2 separate regions of the Homo sapiens genome follow, and region 2 is linked to region 1. The links are contacts of gene promoters, found by promoter capture Hi-C in blood cells and fetal thymus (Javierre and others, 2016). All regions are on one chromosome and are shown on one strand. The core of a region is centred on a gene start or on the middle of the fragment in contact, and the rest is flanking DNA. Distances in the headings are between cores, read along the strand shown.

What was found. Contacts are between HindIII fragments. The CHiCAGO score rates a contact against its expected background, and 5 or more counts as called.
Region 2: a contact is called between a fragment that was not itself captured here and the fragment with the promoter of MS4A10 in region 1, in 1 of 17 cell types (naive B cells). The highest score is 5.2, in naive B cells.

What each region holds. Positions count from the first base shown.
Region 1 is chr11:60,780,390-60,787,838 of GRCh38, reverse strand. It overlaps MS4A10 (membrane spanning 4-domains A10), which reads right to left and starts at 2,506. Exons shown (of 8, transcript NM_206893.4): 1 at 2,418-2,506. The HindIII fragment of the contact is 8,520 bases long and covers 1-3,823 here.
Region 2 is chr11:60,261,226-60,268,272 of GRCh38, reverse strand. No RefSeq gene overlaps it. Among named protein-coding and RNA genes, the nearest start is that of MS4A4A, 16 kb to the left of the region's middle. The HindIII fragment of the contact is 168 bases long and covers 3,073-3,240 here.

The DNA of each region.
Region 1 (7,449 bases), core at 1,257-3,756:
TTCATGTTGGTCAGGCTGGTCTCAAACTCCCGACCTCAGGTGATCCGCCTACCTTGGCCTCCGAAAGTGCTAGGATTACAGATGTGAGCCACTGCGCCCGGCTGGCCATAGGATCTTTTTTTTCTCATTGTCTAACGGTTCTATGCAATTGGTATTCTGTGGGGTCTGCTTTTGGGCAAAGTGGCCTTGAAGGTTTCAATTTCTGGTCCTGGGCTCTGGTTTTTGGCCTTTTCTCTGCTTTTGGTTTGCTCACGTGCATATCACAGTGGGAATGGGAATTGAGTGATGATCTCTAAGGTCCCTTCCAACTTTAAATATAATACTTCTCTCACGGGATAGAGAGCCGCTACAAGGAATTTTATACAACCAGGAGAGGAAGGAGTTGCAGAGGGCAGACCTTAGTCATCATGGGGAAAAGTTTGTTATGACTCTCTCGTACGCCTTTCCAAGACAAAGAGCATGAACTCTGATTCCTTAGAACACTTATTCCCAGCTGTCCTGGCCCACTTCCAGGACCTGTGCAGGGCTGCTAGGAGGTGACAGTGTGCTGACAGAGAGGGGGCAGGCAGCAGGCTGTTTGGTGCATAAAGGAACTTTTTTAGCCTTTCCCCGCCCAACCCCAGCCCCCTCAGCCAGCTCAGGACCACGGACCCAGCCAGCTTGGTATCCCACGGGAAACCCACTGCCACTAGGGCCTCAGCGCTCTGCACAGGGCCACGGGATGCCTGGGTCCCACACATATTCTCGTTGTTCCTTCAGTTCTGGGAGTGGAGGGAGGACAGGGACAGAGCTGGGCAGGACCCTCCAGAACCCCCCAGCAAAGCAGCAGAGTGGGCACGGCCCTGAGCGCTGGAAGTTGTCAGCTAGAATGGGTGCTCCGTGCAAAGTCCTGGCTCTGCTCCCCGGAGCTTTGACCTTGGGCCGGTTTTTTACATCTCAGCATCTGAGTCTCCCCTCACCTTCTCATGGGGAGTGCCACTGCCTGTCCCTAGGGGGTAGGTGGTGAGGAGTAGCTGAAACAATGCCTGCAACTGACAGGGACTGGCGTATAGCAATAAATGTCAGCCACAGTTGCCACTGGCCTGTTGCGTGTCTAGAATCCCACCAGTGAGGCTCCACCTTGTCCTCGTCTGGTTCTCGGTTAAGACATGGTACACCCCATCCCTATCATCTGGAGTGGTGAGTTTATTGCCTCCATCTGCATCCTGCTTACAGGGGGAGAGGGCTGTGAGAGCGAGGCTCCACCTTGTCCTCGTCTGGTTCTTGGTTAAGACATGATACACCCTGTCCCTATCATCTGGAGTGGTGAGTTTATTGCCTCCATCCCCATCCTGCTTACAGGGGGAGAGGGCCGTGAGAGCTCTGGGGCCCTGGGGTGGGGGTAGGGGGTCGTGAGGGAAGAAAGGCACTGAGTGTATTGAGCTAGTGATCTGAGATCCAACACTGTCATTCGTGGATTTGTTTGTGGAGTTTCTGCACTGGACACTGCAGGGACCGAGGCAGGAGTGAGTAAGATGTGTCCATGGGAGGTCTGTGGCTGAGCAGGCAGAGGAAACGTGGCATGAATAATATGACCCTCATCAGACTGTGCAGTGGAGCCCTAGAGGACAGAGAGAGCTTCTCAGGGTGTGTGTGTGTGTGTGTGTGTGCGTGTGTGTGTGTGTGCATGTGTGTGCATGCATGTGCATGCATGTCAAGGACAGAAAGGCAGGAATTGAGAGGTGCTGAGTGACAAGAGTGTCACAACATGTGACAGGCAGGCTGGTGTTGGGGGTGGGGTGCCTTAGAGGATCAGCGTTTCAGTGAATGCCAGTTAGAAAACCACCTACGACTGTACTGAACCAGCCTCCTCCTGGTGCTTCCAGACAGTGTGCCTGGTGTAAAGAGAGCTCACCCACCAGCAGCTGGAAGGCCTGCAGGAAACAGAGGCCTCCGTCCAAGGAGGGAGTCAAGAATCTGGATTCTAGTCCTGCCCCCTCGTGGCCCTCGACAAGTCCCTTCTCCTCCCTGGGGCTCTGTTTTCTTGAACTGGTCTCTCTGTGTGTATGCATTTCCAGACTGCAAGAAAAGTGTCTGGGGCTCCTCCAGCAATAAGGGTCAGTAACTGGCAGCAGGATGGGGCTCCGCAGGGGAGAGGCCGACGGTGCCCCCTACTTCCCAGATCCCCTCTGCTGGGTGGGCCACCCATTCTCCAGCTGGTATAATTGTTCATTGCTAAAGGCTCACATCTCCTCCCTTCTGGGAGTTTAAGTAACACCGCTCCAACCCTACAGCCAACAACTGATTGGCTAGGGGTATAAGAGGCCGGTCCCCTGGCTTCAAGGGGGGACCAGGTCTGTACACCTGAGCAACCCCCCAACTCCACATGGAAACACAAAATCACTCCCCTCTGTTCCTGCCATGGGGGGACCACTCACCCCAGGACCTGGGACTGCAGCTCTGAGCTTCCAGCTGTGCTTTGCCCTCTTGCGCTGCCGGAGCTCCCCAGAGACAGCGCTGGGAAATCAGCACATCTTTACAACATTCGACTTTGGATCTTCTCCCTCCTGGACCCACGCCCTGCTTCATGCCCCGGTTGCATGGAAGCTGTCAAAGTCCTTCCCCCTCCCGCCAAACCCCGGCAGGTGAAAATCTTAGTGCCCTTCTTTATGTCTCTCCTTGACAGTTGTAAATTTCCTTTGGCAAGGGAAATGTTGATAATTTAATCTGTTTTCAGGGCATGACTGATGGAGTGAAAGTGGTTGTAATCGTCTTAGATCCTGGGAGTGGAGTAAGAAGTTGAACCTTTTGAAAGAGTTCTTTTAATTCTGGAAAATTTCAAGCACTCACAAAAGTAGAGAGAATGGTTCCATGACACCCCTGTGCCCATTCGCGAGCTACAGCCACCATCAGCAGCTCTTGGCCAATCTTATTCTCCCCCAGAAGTAAGCAAAACTCAGATATCTTCCCATTTTATTTGTAAGCATTTTAGTATTTATCTCTAAAAGATATGGACTCTTTAAAAAAAAAGTGTGACCACATGATCAGAACAAAAAAATTAAAACCGAGTCCTGGTGCTCACTGAGGTCTATTTACGCTCAGAGTTTAACCCTGCAGCCCCACAGAGCTCTGTTGAACATTTGGAAACTAGTCTTTTAAAGGGCCGGGCGGTGGCTCATGCCTGCAATCCCAGCTCTTTGGGAGACCAAAGTGGGAGGATCACTTGAGCCAAGAGCTTGAGACCAGCCTGGGCAACATAGCGAGACCTCATCTCTACAAAAATTCAAAAATTCAAAAATGAGCCAGGTGTCTTGGTCCCTGTCTATGGTTCCAGCTGCTCGAGAGGCTGAGGTGGGAGCATCACTTGAGTCCAGTGAGCTGTGATCACACCACTGCACCTCAGTCCGGGCAACACAGTGTGACCCTGTCTCAAAAAAAAAAAAAAAAAAAAAAGAGGAAAGGAAAAAAGAAACTACTTTCATAGAGCAGTGGTCCCCAACCGTTCTGGCACTGGGGACCAGTTTCGTGGAAGACAATTTTTCCATGGGCCGGGGTGGGGATGGGGGATGGTTCTGGGATGAAATTAGTCCACCTCAGATCATCAGGCATTCGATTCTCATGAGGGTACCACTTAGATCCCTTGCATGTGCAATTCATAATAGGGCCCGTTCTGCTTTGAGAATCTATTGCTGCGGCTGATCTGACAGGAGGCGGCACTCAGGTGGTAGGTCATGCTTGCCTGTTGCCCCTCACCTTCTGCTGTGAGGCCTGGTTCCTAACAGGCCACAGACTGGTATAGCTCCATGGCCTGGGGGTTGGGGACCCCTGTTGTGGGGGACAAGCTTAACCCTAGGAGTCAGAAAAACCTGTTCTTATCTAGTTTTTGGTACTTACCGGGTATCAAATAACTAGTCGGAGCTTCAGTTTCTGATTATCTCACAAATGTCTTGTTACTTTTGATTTGTTCAAATCAGGATCCAGGATCCAGGCATGGCCCACAAATTGCATCTGACAGAATCAGTTGCCACATCTTGTGCCCTGATCTTTCCATGAGCACGGTGCTGCTCTGGGAAGTGTGAAGGTCTTCCGTGAGGCTGTTCTGGTGGAGGAGGTGTGGAGTGGGCTCCAGTGACCCCCAGATCCCATGACCCCCAGATCCAGTGACCCCAGATCCAGCGACCCCCAGGTACCACAACCCCCAGATCCAGGGACCCCCAGATCCCACAACCCTCAGATCCTGTGACCCCCAGATCCCATGACCCCCAGATCCCACAACCCCCAGATCCCGTGACCCCCAGATCCTGTGACTCCCAGATCCTATGACCCCAGATCCAGTGACCCCCCCGATCCAGTGACCCCCAGATCCAGCAACCCCCAGATCCCACGACCCCCAGATCCAACAAACCCCAGATCCAGCAACCTCCAGATCCCACAACTCCCAGATCCAGCAACCCCCAGATCCCACAACTCCCAGATCCAGCAACCCCCAGATCCCACAACCCCCAGATCCAACAACCCTCAGATCCCACAACTCCCAGATCCAGCAACCCCCAGATCCTGTGACCCCCAGATCCAGCGACCCCCAGATCCAGCGACCCCTAGATCCCGCCTTGGGCTCTTCCTTTTCCATCTGGCTTCTCTCTCCACATCGCTCTGCTGAGGGTGGACAGGGAAGCGCGAGGCAGAGCCAGCGGCTGTACAGATAGTCCCTGATGCCAGGACTGACTGACTTTGACTTGCTGAGCACAGCATAGCACTTCAGAGCTGACTCTGCATCTGGGATGCCTGAGTTCAAATCTTGATTCTACCTCTTAATGTTGTGTGACCTTGGGCAAGTTATTTGACTTTGGTGGGCCTCAGTTTTCCCCTCTATAAAATGGGGATAATAGTACCCATCAAGTTGCTGGAGGGTTAAATGAGTTAGAATATGTAAAATGCTTAAAAGCAGCGCCTCACACGTGTCAGTGGCCGTGCCTAATTATTTTAGTTGCTGTGTGCTTCCGGGGTCGCTCGTGCTCAGCTGTCATGCATGTTCAATGTGGCATAGACTTCGATGTCACACACACAATCAGGCAAAAGGCCACTCACCCCTCTCAGACCTGCTGGACTATGCAGGCTTCCCCTGAGGGGTAGGGGGCCAGGCTGAGCAGCAGCCAGTAGCTTTGAGAGAGACCTGTTTCTTCTGAAGGCACTTGCCTGCCCACTGTAATGCTGAGACACGTGAGGCCAATAATCACTGTCATTGGTTGCCTTGCACCCGTTCATCACCCACGACTTTAGCTCCTCAAACATGGGGTGAGTGTTTTTCCAGGACCAGTGCTTTTTTGCTGAGTAGGAAGACAGCCCCCCACCCCCCTGATACCCTTGTTCATTAACTGATCCGTTCATTGATAAAACAGCTAATGAGCACTTACTTGGGCCAGGCGCTGTGTGACATGCTGGGGATCCAGGAGTGGGCAAGAGGCTGCCCCTGGCCTTGAGGAGCTCAGAATTTGTGGTAGTCAGAGCAATGGCACCTCAACAATGTCCACATCCCTAGAATCTGTGAATACGTTACCTTATGCAGTGAAAAGGGCTTTGCAGATGATTAAGTCAAAGTTGTTGATAGGGATAGATTATTCAGTGGGCCCAATGTATTCCCAAGCGGGAGGCAAGAGGGTCAGAGTGAGTGGAAGAGCTTGGCAGGTGGAGGCCAAGGTCCCAAGCCAAGCAAGGCAGGTGGCCTCTAGAAGCTGGAAAAGGCAAGGAAGCGGGGCCTCCCTGGAGCCTCCAGAAGGAACTCAGCCCTGCCGACACCTGGATTTTAGGACCTCTGACCTCAGAACTGTCTAATAATAAGTCTGTGTTATGTTAGGCCACTAAGTTCATGGTAATTTGTTACAGCAGCAATAGGGAAAGAATATGAAGTCCATTGAATAAGATGAACAGGGAGACAGGTAACTGTGCTGTGGACGGGTGAGTGATGTGATACTGAGATGTGGGTGTGGCGAGAGCCTGGAGGAGTTCCCCTAATCTAGAAGGGGTTGGGGGATGAGGCCAGATAAGGCTTCCTGGAGGAAGTGGTATCTAAATGAAGGTCTGAAGTGGGGTTGGGAGCTAAGCAGGACAAATAGGAGGGTTGGAAGCAGGCAGAGAGCAGCCTTCCAGGCAGATGGAGCTCACGGAGACTCAGGATGGCTCGGGGTCAAGTGTAAGTGGAGGGTGAGGAGGGATGGGGCTGGAGAGGTGAACTGCTACATCTCCAGGGCTTTGTAAGTGTTGCTAGAGCATTTGGACTTTAGCCCAAGGGCAAAGGAGAGCCTGAATAAGTTTAGGCAGAACAGTAACATGATGACTTTGTACTTTAGAAAAATCCCTCTGGCTGTCATCTAGTCAAGAGATGCATGGGGCAGGCTCAGAGCTGGGGACGTGGCAGGAGGCTGACGCCTGATGTAGGTGAAGGGTGACGTGGTTCAAAGGTGGTGTGGTTCAAAGATGCAGGTGAAAAGTGATGTGGCTCAAAGGAGGAGGATAAGGAGAGTGGACTCAGTTGAGAAACCAGAGCAAGGAGAATCAGTGGAGGATGATTCTGTGTGGCTTAGAGAGAGGGGAAACCAAGAATGATGCTTGGGTTCAGTCTTGGGTGGCCCAAAGTCTATAGGGACGTCAACTGACATCAGGAACACAGGAGGGGAAATGGCTTGAGTTGGAAGAGAAGATGTAAATTCCTTTTTGTGAGACAAGAAAGTAGATGCTGAGGCTGTCTCAGCAAAAGAGATCTGGGTGGAAGACAGTGATTTGAAAACTGTCAGGATGGTGATAGATGGCTAATGTGAGCTCCATGAGAACAGAGATCTTGGCTAATGTCTGGTGTCTCCAGAGCTTACACAGCACACACCCAATCAGCACTTGCTGAATAAAAGATGAAATGAACCTGAAGTGGTGGATGAGATCATGTAGAGAGTAGGTAGTGTACACAGAGGAAATCTATGGGTAGGCAACATTTAAGAAATGGAGAGAGCTATTATTAAAACAAGGATTTTTAAAAGCCTATTGATTTTGGTGACAAGGTCAATGCAATAACCTTACAGAGAGTGATTTCAATGGGTTGAGTGACAGTGAGGAAAATAAAGGAGAGGAGAAAAATTAACCTGCAGCTGAAGGGTTTTAGGGGGTATAGATAGGGCTTTTTAAACTGGGAGAAAATTAAATACATTGAATTTGCATTTTCAAAATTACAAATTTAAATGAGCAGAACTGTAACTGAGGCAGACAAATTCTAAGGCGGTCCCAATAACCCTTCCCTTTGAGTGTGGGTAGCACCTGTGACTTGCTTCTAACCAGTAACCTATTGCAAAGGTGATGGGGTGGCACTTCCATAATTATGTTGTTATATAAATCTTCATCCTGCTAGTCAACTTGCTATAGGGATCACTCCCCAGCTGGTTTCAAACAAGTAAATGTCCATGTTATGAGGCTCCCTTGGCAAGG
Region 2 (7,047 bases), core at 1,907-4,406, 520 kb after region 1:
AGGGAATGAGCCGACAATATATCTTCTCACCCACTTAGACTTCCAACTTTCCCTATTCATTGTCTCTGTGAGCCAAAGCCAAGTCTCATTTAGTTGTTTCTCTCTGGAGGGGGACCAGGTAGTGTAATAGAAAGACCACAGGGCTAAAAAGCAGCAGGTCTGAGCTCCGGACAATTCAGCCATTTGCCAATTGTGTCACTCTGGGAAAATCTCCACAAATCCCCTATAAATGTGTGACAGTAAAGCAAACCATTCAGGTTTGTTTGGAGAATTAGAGGCTGGAAAGAGAGAAAGGACAAAGCATTGCTTTCCTATTCTCTCTGCATTGACACAGCCTTTGGAAGTAGCTACTTCTTCCACAGTTATACTACAAAGCAGCTCTTCTTACAAGACTTCTGCTCTTTATTGGTCCCCATAATAGTGTGTTCTCTTCTCATACCTTCCTGCTTTTCTTGTCTGTAGTGACCTCCCTTTCCTTCTTCGTTCCCTTAACTCTGCCCAAATTCTGCGAGGTCTTCATAAAAATCCCTTAAATAAGTCACATGGGATGAATTATGTTTCTTGGGGACACTTTTACTGATACCTGAGCCTTCAAAATGACTGAATGTGGGGAGTGAAAGAAAGAGAGGCGTAGGCACCCACCTCCTAGGATTTGAATGAGCAGTGATGCTGTGTTCCAACAACACAACCCACCATCCTCTCTCTGGGACTACTGCCGGAGCCTCCTCGCTACTCTCCCCACATCTTCCCTCGCCTCCCTTCAGTCGGTTCTTACCAAGACAGGCAGCCAGAGTGGTCCTGTTAAGATGCAAGTTAGATCCTGTCTTCCCTTTGCTGAAAATCTTCCAATGCCTCCTACCTCACTCAAAATAAGCCGTATCTCCTTAATAAGTCGCTTTATAATCCAGCCCCCCAGAAATCTCAGACAACATTGCCTTCTCCTCTCCCTATTCCAGTCTCAATGTGTCTCCAGACGTACTGTTTCCTCAGAAGCATGGAACGTGCTCACCTCAAGACCTCTGCTCTTACCACTTGTTGGTCCAGATAACTGCTAGGGATTTGTATTATCAGGTTCAAGAAAATAAATGCGTGGTTCCACTCATTATCTCAGCATTATTATTTCAGAAGAATAGTTCACACATATTATTAGATTAAATTTTATTCACCTAAATTGCGTTTGAGAAAATTTCTTTATTATCCATTTTGAGTAACGAGTGGGAATCCTAGGAGGTGCTCGAGCAACACCAGGTGGTTACTGCCATGAAAAGGGATGTGAGTCCCTCTGGGGAGGCAGGACTGGAAAAATCTGAGGAGTAGTCAGTGAATTTCTATACTGTGTAAAATAAAGGGAAAGAGAAACAAAACAAAAACTCCAAAAATGGTACTGGCCCAACCATGATGGGAATGGGTATTAGAGAAACGTTCAGAAGTCCTAACTTTATTTCACTTCTTTTAATCCTCTCTCCACCCAGCTTTCACCGATCCACTCTATGGCATTGGAAAATAAATGCTTGGTTCATTTCCATCAGTCAGCTTCACTAGAAACTACTAGGTTGGTTCATTCACTTTCAAAGTCACTTCTAGATCCATGAAACCATATGAGTCATCCTAAAATCTCTCATGGACATATTTCCTTAATGTGTGATCTATAAGTCCAACACCATGAGGGAGGCTCTCAGGGTCGGGCTGGTTCAGGTTATTTCCCTTATGAGAGGCCAGTGGCTGTTCCACCAAGAAGGGAAGAAGCCAGGCACAGATGTTGCCACCTGGCCACTCATCCCGAAGCCTTCCCAAACCCTCACCTTCTGCAATAAGATCCATGTTCCAAAAAGCAGAGAGGAGGGCATGGTAATGTCTCTGGTGTGCCATTTATAACCCAGATTTTTCAGAATATGAGACCAGGTGAGATGTGCAGTCTCAACCTCTCCCTCTAGCTGTATCCACACCCTCCTCCATCATGCATGTGCTCACATTTTACAGAATGTGGGGAAAGACAGGAGAAGGGAGAGGAGAGTAGAGTAAATAACAATTAGATAAAATCTAAAATATGTTTTTCAGTTCACCAGAGTGCAGAGAATGGGGTGGGAGTGGACAAAAAAGTGGTATAAAGTTAGGATGGTACAAAAAGCACCCTTTGAAATTAAAGCACTTTAATACTATCTTGAAAATCAACTTGTGATGTTTTGAAAATTCATTCTCAGGTATCCTCACTAACACCTTTCAATATAAGTAATAATATCTAAATAATACCTACAAAATTTAGCAGATGAAAAAGCTAAGGGTCAGAGGGATGACTTGCTGTATCTACTAGATTCCCAGAGAATATGGGATAGAAATGGGACCCAACCCAGCGCTAGTATACAAGACCAGAGCTGGGAGTTGACTTTTCATAAGGTCTTCCCAGAAGACACCAGATTAGGTAGGAATTCAAATTAGGTAGGACAATTTCTTGTCCACTGCCTCCCTCTTGTGGCTCAATTAAATATGACACCTCAATGTCAAAATGAAGGGGATAATAGGAAAAACAGAAAAACTGGGTTATACATTCATTACCTTCATGACTCACGTGAATCACTTTCTTTCCCTGGGCCACAGACTTCTCATATTTCAGTGTAGAAAGATTTCCACGTCTCTTCTAACTCTGATGTTCTATTTTTATAAGATGTAAATCAGGTCTCTTATATACAGCCCAGTCTAAGCAAAGCATCTCAATATTGTAAGAACTGCCTGTGTGCATGTGTGTGCGTGTGTGTGCATGCATGTGTGTGTGGAAAGAGATGACAACAATTGAGACTACAGAGCAAGTATTAAGAGAACTGTTTGTATTTCTGGACTCCTGAAAATTGTGCACCACCTTCTACATGTCTTTGTGGTCAGTGGTGAACAGGCCATACCATGAGTGCTAGGAGAATTTTCCTGATGCCAGGATTTGAGCTTACCATTGCTCATTTACCCTAATTTCTTCCCAAAGATATGTTACTTTTGGGAAAGAAACTGGGGAAAGATTGAAAAGTAAATCCTAGCTTGCATTCCTGGGACAAATAGTCCCCGAGAGATATATAACTTTAAGCTTGGTTCTGAACTGAGATCATTGTCTCCTCTAGTAACCTGAAGCAGCATCAAGACATCACATCCTACTCTCTGTCCTTACAATAAAAGGCCTCAGTTTAGTATCCCGAAGTCCAACTTGGCCCTACCCTCCAGACACAGATATGAAGATGTAAAGAGAAGGCCAAAGCTTATGGAATAAATCCTACTCAGAAGAGAAGATAGGCACAGGGCCAGGTTCTATGCATTCTGGCTCAATACCAGCGGTAGAATTTAAAAAGCCTTTAGTTGCATCTGGAGAACTCCAGGTTCGTCTAGAGCAGTAGCTCTTAAAATGTGGTTCCCAGAGTAGTAGCATCAGTATCACCTGACATTGTGGTTGACATGCAAATACCCTACCCCAGACCTATTGAATCAGACAGTCTCGGTGTGCATTCTGTGTTTTAAGAAGCCCTCCAGATTTTGATACACACTCAAGTTTGATATCTACAGGCTTATAGCAGTAATTGGCAACATTGACTATACGGTAGAATCCGCTAAAGAGCTACAAAAAATTTTGACTCTCCAACCATAATCCATATTAATTAAATCAGAATACCTGGTAATGGGGCTCATGTGTTAGTACGTGTTAAAGTTTCCCAAGTTATCCCAATGCTCAGACAAGATTGAGATCCATTGCTCTAGAGGCAAAGGCAGACTTCTTGGAGAGTCTTTTGCTTCTGTCTCCATCCTTTCAGCTAACTAGTAGAAGGGCCCAGGCCTTTCTCACATTAACTTCTGTTAAGCAAGTTCTAGTCCCATCTCAGGTTTGTGCAGGTGATTTGTTTTTAAACATAAGCTTGGGACTTTAATTTTACCTGATTAAATTTGATCTGTATTCCAACGCTCATGTTCCAGACTTTTGGGTTGTATCTTCAATCTGGACACTCTCGTTTTATAAATTATACTTCTTGTTTTTGGATCATTTGCAAATAGGATCAGCAACTAAATTCTTGATGAAAATATTAAGTGGTTGAAGATCCAACCAAGAGACTCCACAAAGGATGACATTAACACCCCCTGCATAGGATTTCTACCAGATGACAATCCATATAACTGGTTATTCAGGGCATGGTAGGCAGCCATAGTCCTGATTCTCTGGTTTTCCATATTTAGGGTCAACCCTGAGCCATTTGGCTGAGACCAGCTGGGCCTGGGTGTCATCTGATCACCTTTGTTACAGGATCAGTCCCGAGCCTGTGCACTGAGGCCTCTTCAGTACTTCTTCTGAACTAATAATACAAGGTTCCAAATGTCAGATATAGGAGAAACCGAGTGTTGGAGTTATCTGGGCCTGGGTTTTTAAAATACAAGTAAGGACAAAGGATGTCAAGATGTATAACTCTGATGTTCAGTCTTCGGCTTCAGTCTTCCTCACTTGACTGTCACTCTAGCCCTGAAGCAAATATACCAATGCCATGCCATGAAATTGCCTCATGGGCATAATTGTTGTACATTCCGACTAAACACAATAAGAAGACGGCAGGGCTTGAGTTTCACCACCAGCCCCCAGATGACCGCATAACAGCTATCACATAGTCTTACTGAACTAAAGTACCTGGGAACTTGAACTCCAAGCTCTTGGTGCTGATCCTGTGAAAAGTGCAATGTTGCATGTCCTGTCCCAGCTTCCTCTTTTCCAGGGACTTTCATATCTTAACTGTTCCTCTTGTGGTGCTCTCAGAGCTTTTCTCCACCAACCACTTTTTTTTTCTTTTTGCATTTCAAAACACATCACTTTTCGTTTATTTCATTATACAAATTATTTGCTTTCAAATCCATTTTTTCATGCATAAGTGCATGGCCATTTCTATTTCTTTAGTTAAATTGTCTGGTCCTGCACTTCATCCATTTATATTTTTTCTATGATTACTATGTGGGCATTCTATTCTCATTTTCTTGCCATTCAGTCTTTTTTAACACAACGCATCACTTGTATTAGTTATTGTATACTCCATTTTAATTTCTGATAGTACTGTCTTTACTTCAACATTAGTCTTTATTAAAATACTTTTGGCTAGTCATACTCATTCCACATGGACATAAAGAACATTAAGTCAATTTCCACAAGAGATTTATTTGAAAGTATATTATATTACGTCCGAAAAAAATGTGGAATAACTGACAACCAGAAATAAGTCAATACAGTCAAGTCTCTGTCTATGTTTCTAAATAAAAGGCGTATGTCTTTCCTCATAAAAATTCTTCATGTTTCCACTTAAGTGAATTACTGAACACTTTATATTTTTGTTTTAGTATGACCAAAATATATTCACTTTAGGCATTTAATCTGGTTATTAACAATTAAAAGTCTATAAATATTCATTGGGCTTGAAATTAATCTTATTTTGGTAACAAATATTTGTATTACTTACCTCTAGCTTTATTGATTAGTTAATGTGGGCTGGATTTTTTGTTTTAAGTTAGTGAGGTTTTGGGATGAATATTTGGTCAATTGTTGCCAATGTACCAAGGGTTCTTAAAAAGCATGCTTTCTTTAGTGTTGATTCATTCAAGTATTTTGTAATTCAAATCATCTTTTTTGGCTTACATTCCTCAAAACTTACATATGTTAAAAATTCTCATGAGTACTGTGTTTTTGTTAGTTTCTCACACTCCTAGGCATTTTTTTATTAGTAGAATATTATATGTTATTTGATCATAAGATTCTAAACAACATATCATTATAAATGCCCTCCTTTGTCATACCTGAGAATTTTCCTTAGAACTTTTATTGCCTAATATTAATATTCTATCCCATGTCTTATTGTTTTGGATTTTCTGACCTTCATTTGCCTTTCCGTACCCTTACATTCACTACTGTAATAGGAACTTTTGGAATAGAAATGGGATTTTGTCACTGTGCTGCTTGAATCTTTCTGTGTCTGCACATTGACTGCATGACAAAGCCCAATGTCTCCAGTAAGCATTTGAAGTCCTGTGAATTCCACATTTTGCACGTCCAGGATCTTACCTCTCACCCAAATGAAACTGTCACTTCTCCCACTGTGACAGAATCATAACAAAGTGTTTGCAGTTCCCCCCAGTAAGCCAAACTGTTTCAGGGCTCTAGCCTCTGTGCGCACTGATTCCCCTACCTAGAATGCATATGGCTGCAAGCACCTGCTCTTCTTTGAAAGCATTATTTGAATGTTAATTTTCAATGAATCCTCCTCTTCCCAAGGGAAATTTTAGCCAACACATCTGAACTTTTTGTGCTCTCGTGATGCTCCCTATGTACTGTGTTCAAGGGCAGGGACATTATCTTCTACAGGTATTACTGATCTCTTGCATAGGTCTGCATGGGCCAGATACTTAATAAATATTGGCTGAATAAAATAACTGTGAGTGGTAGCTCATTTGGAATAGGAACCTAGGATAACTTTAGACTGGTGAGAACAAAATGGCAGCCCTGTTCACATATACAGAGGCTGGCACTTAGGAGTCCCTCCTGTGTGAAGCAGAGAATTGTTGCTGTAGCAAACCTGTTTTCAAAAACCTCTTCATTCATGAAAAGAGAGTAATAACAACAGGGAAAATTATGTGAATTTGGAACAAGAGCAAAATAAGACAATGTAGCAATAGTAGACAGTGTAATTACTTGATATGAATGTTAGGCAGTGTATTAATGTATTTCTTTTGCACCGTAAGGTCCAAAATAGTAGCATTGAATGCCACAGCCTATGAGGTATTCATCAAGATTTGTCAATTTAGTATCGGTTTCCTACAGCTTAGAAAAACTGTTTGTCTGAGTACCCATAAGGAGCCTAAATTCCTGGTGGGAGGGGATCTTATCTTTTTTACTTGGTGGTGCCAGTGTTTTTCATATATTAGTCAAGAGAAGAAAGATTTTTATTGCCTCTCTCCAACTCATTTTTCCATTCCTGTCCCCATTGTTGGAAACACATGCTCAGTGTCACAAAAAAGAACTAGCGCTGAAACAAAGGACAAAGGGTCTCT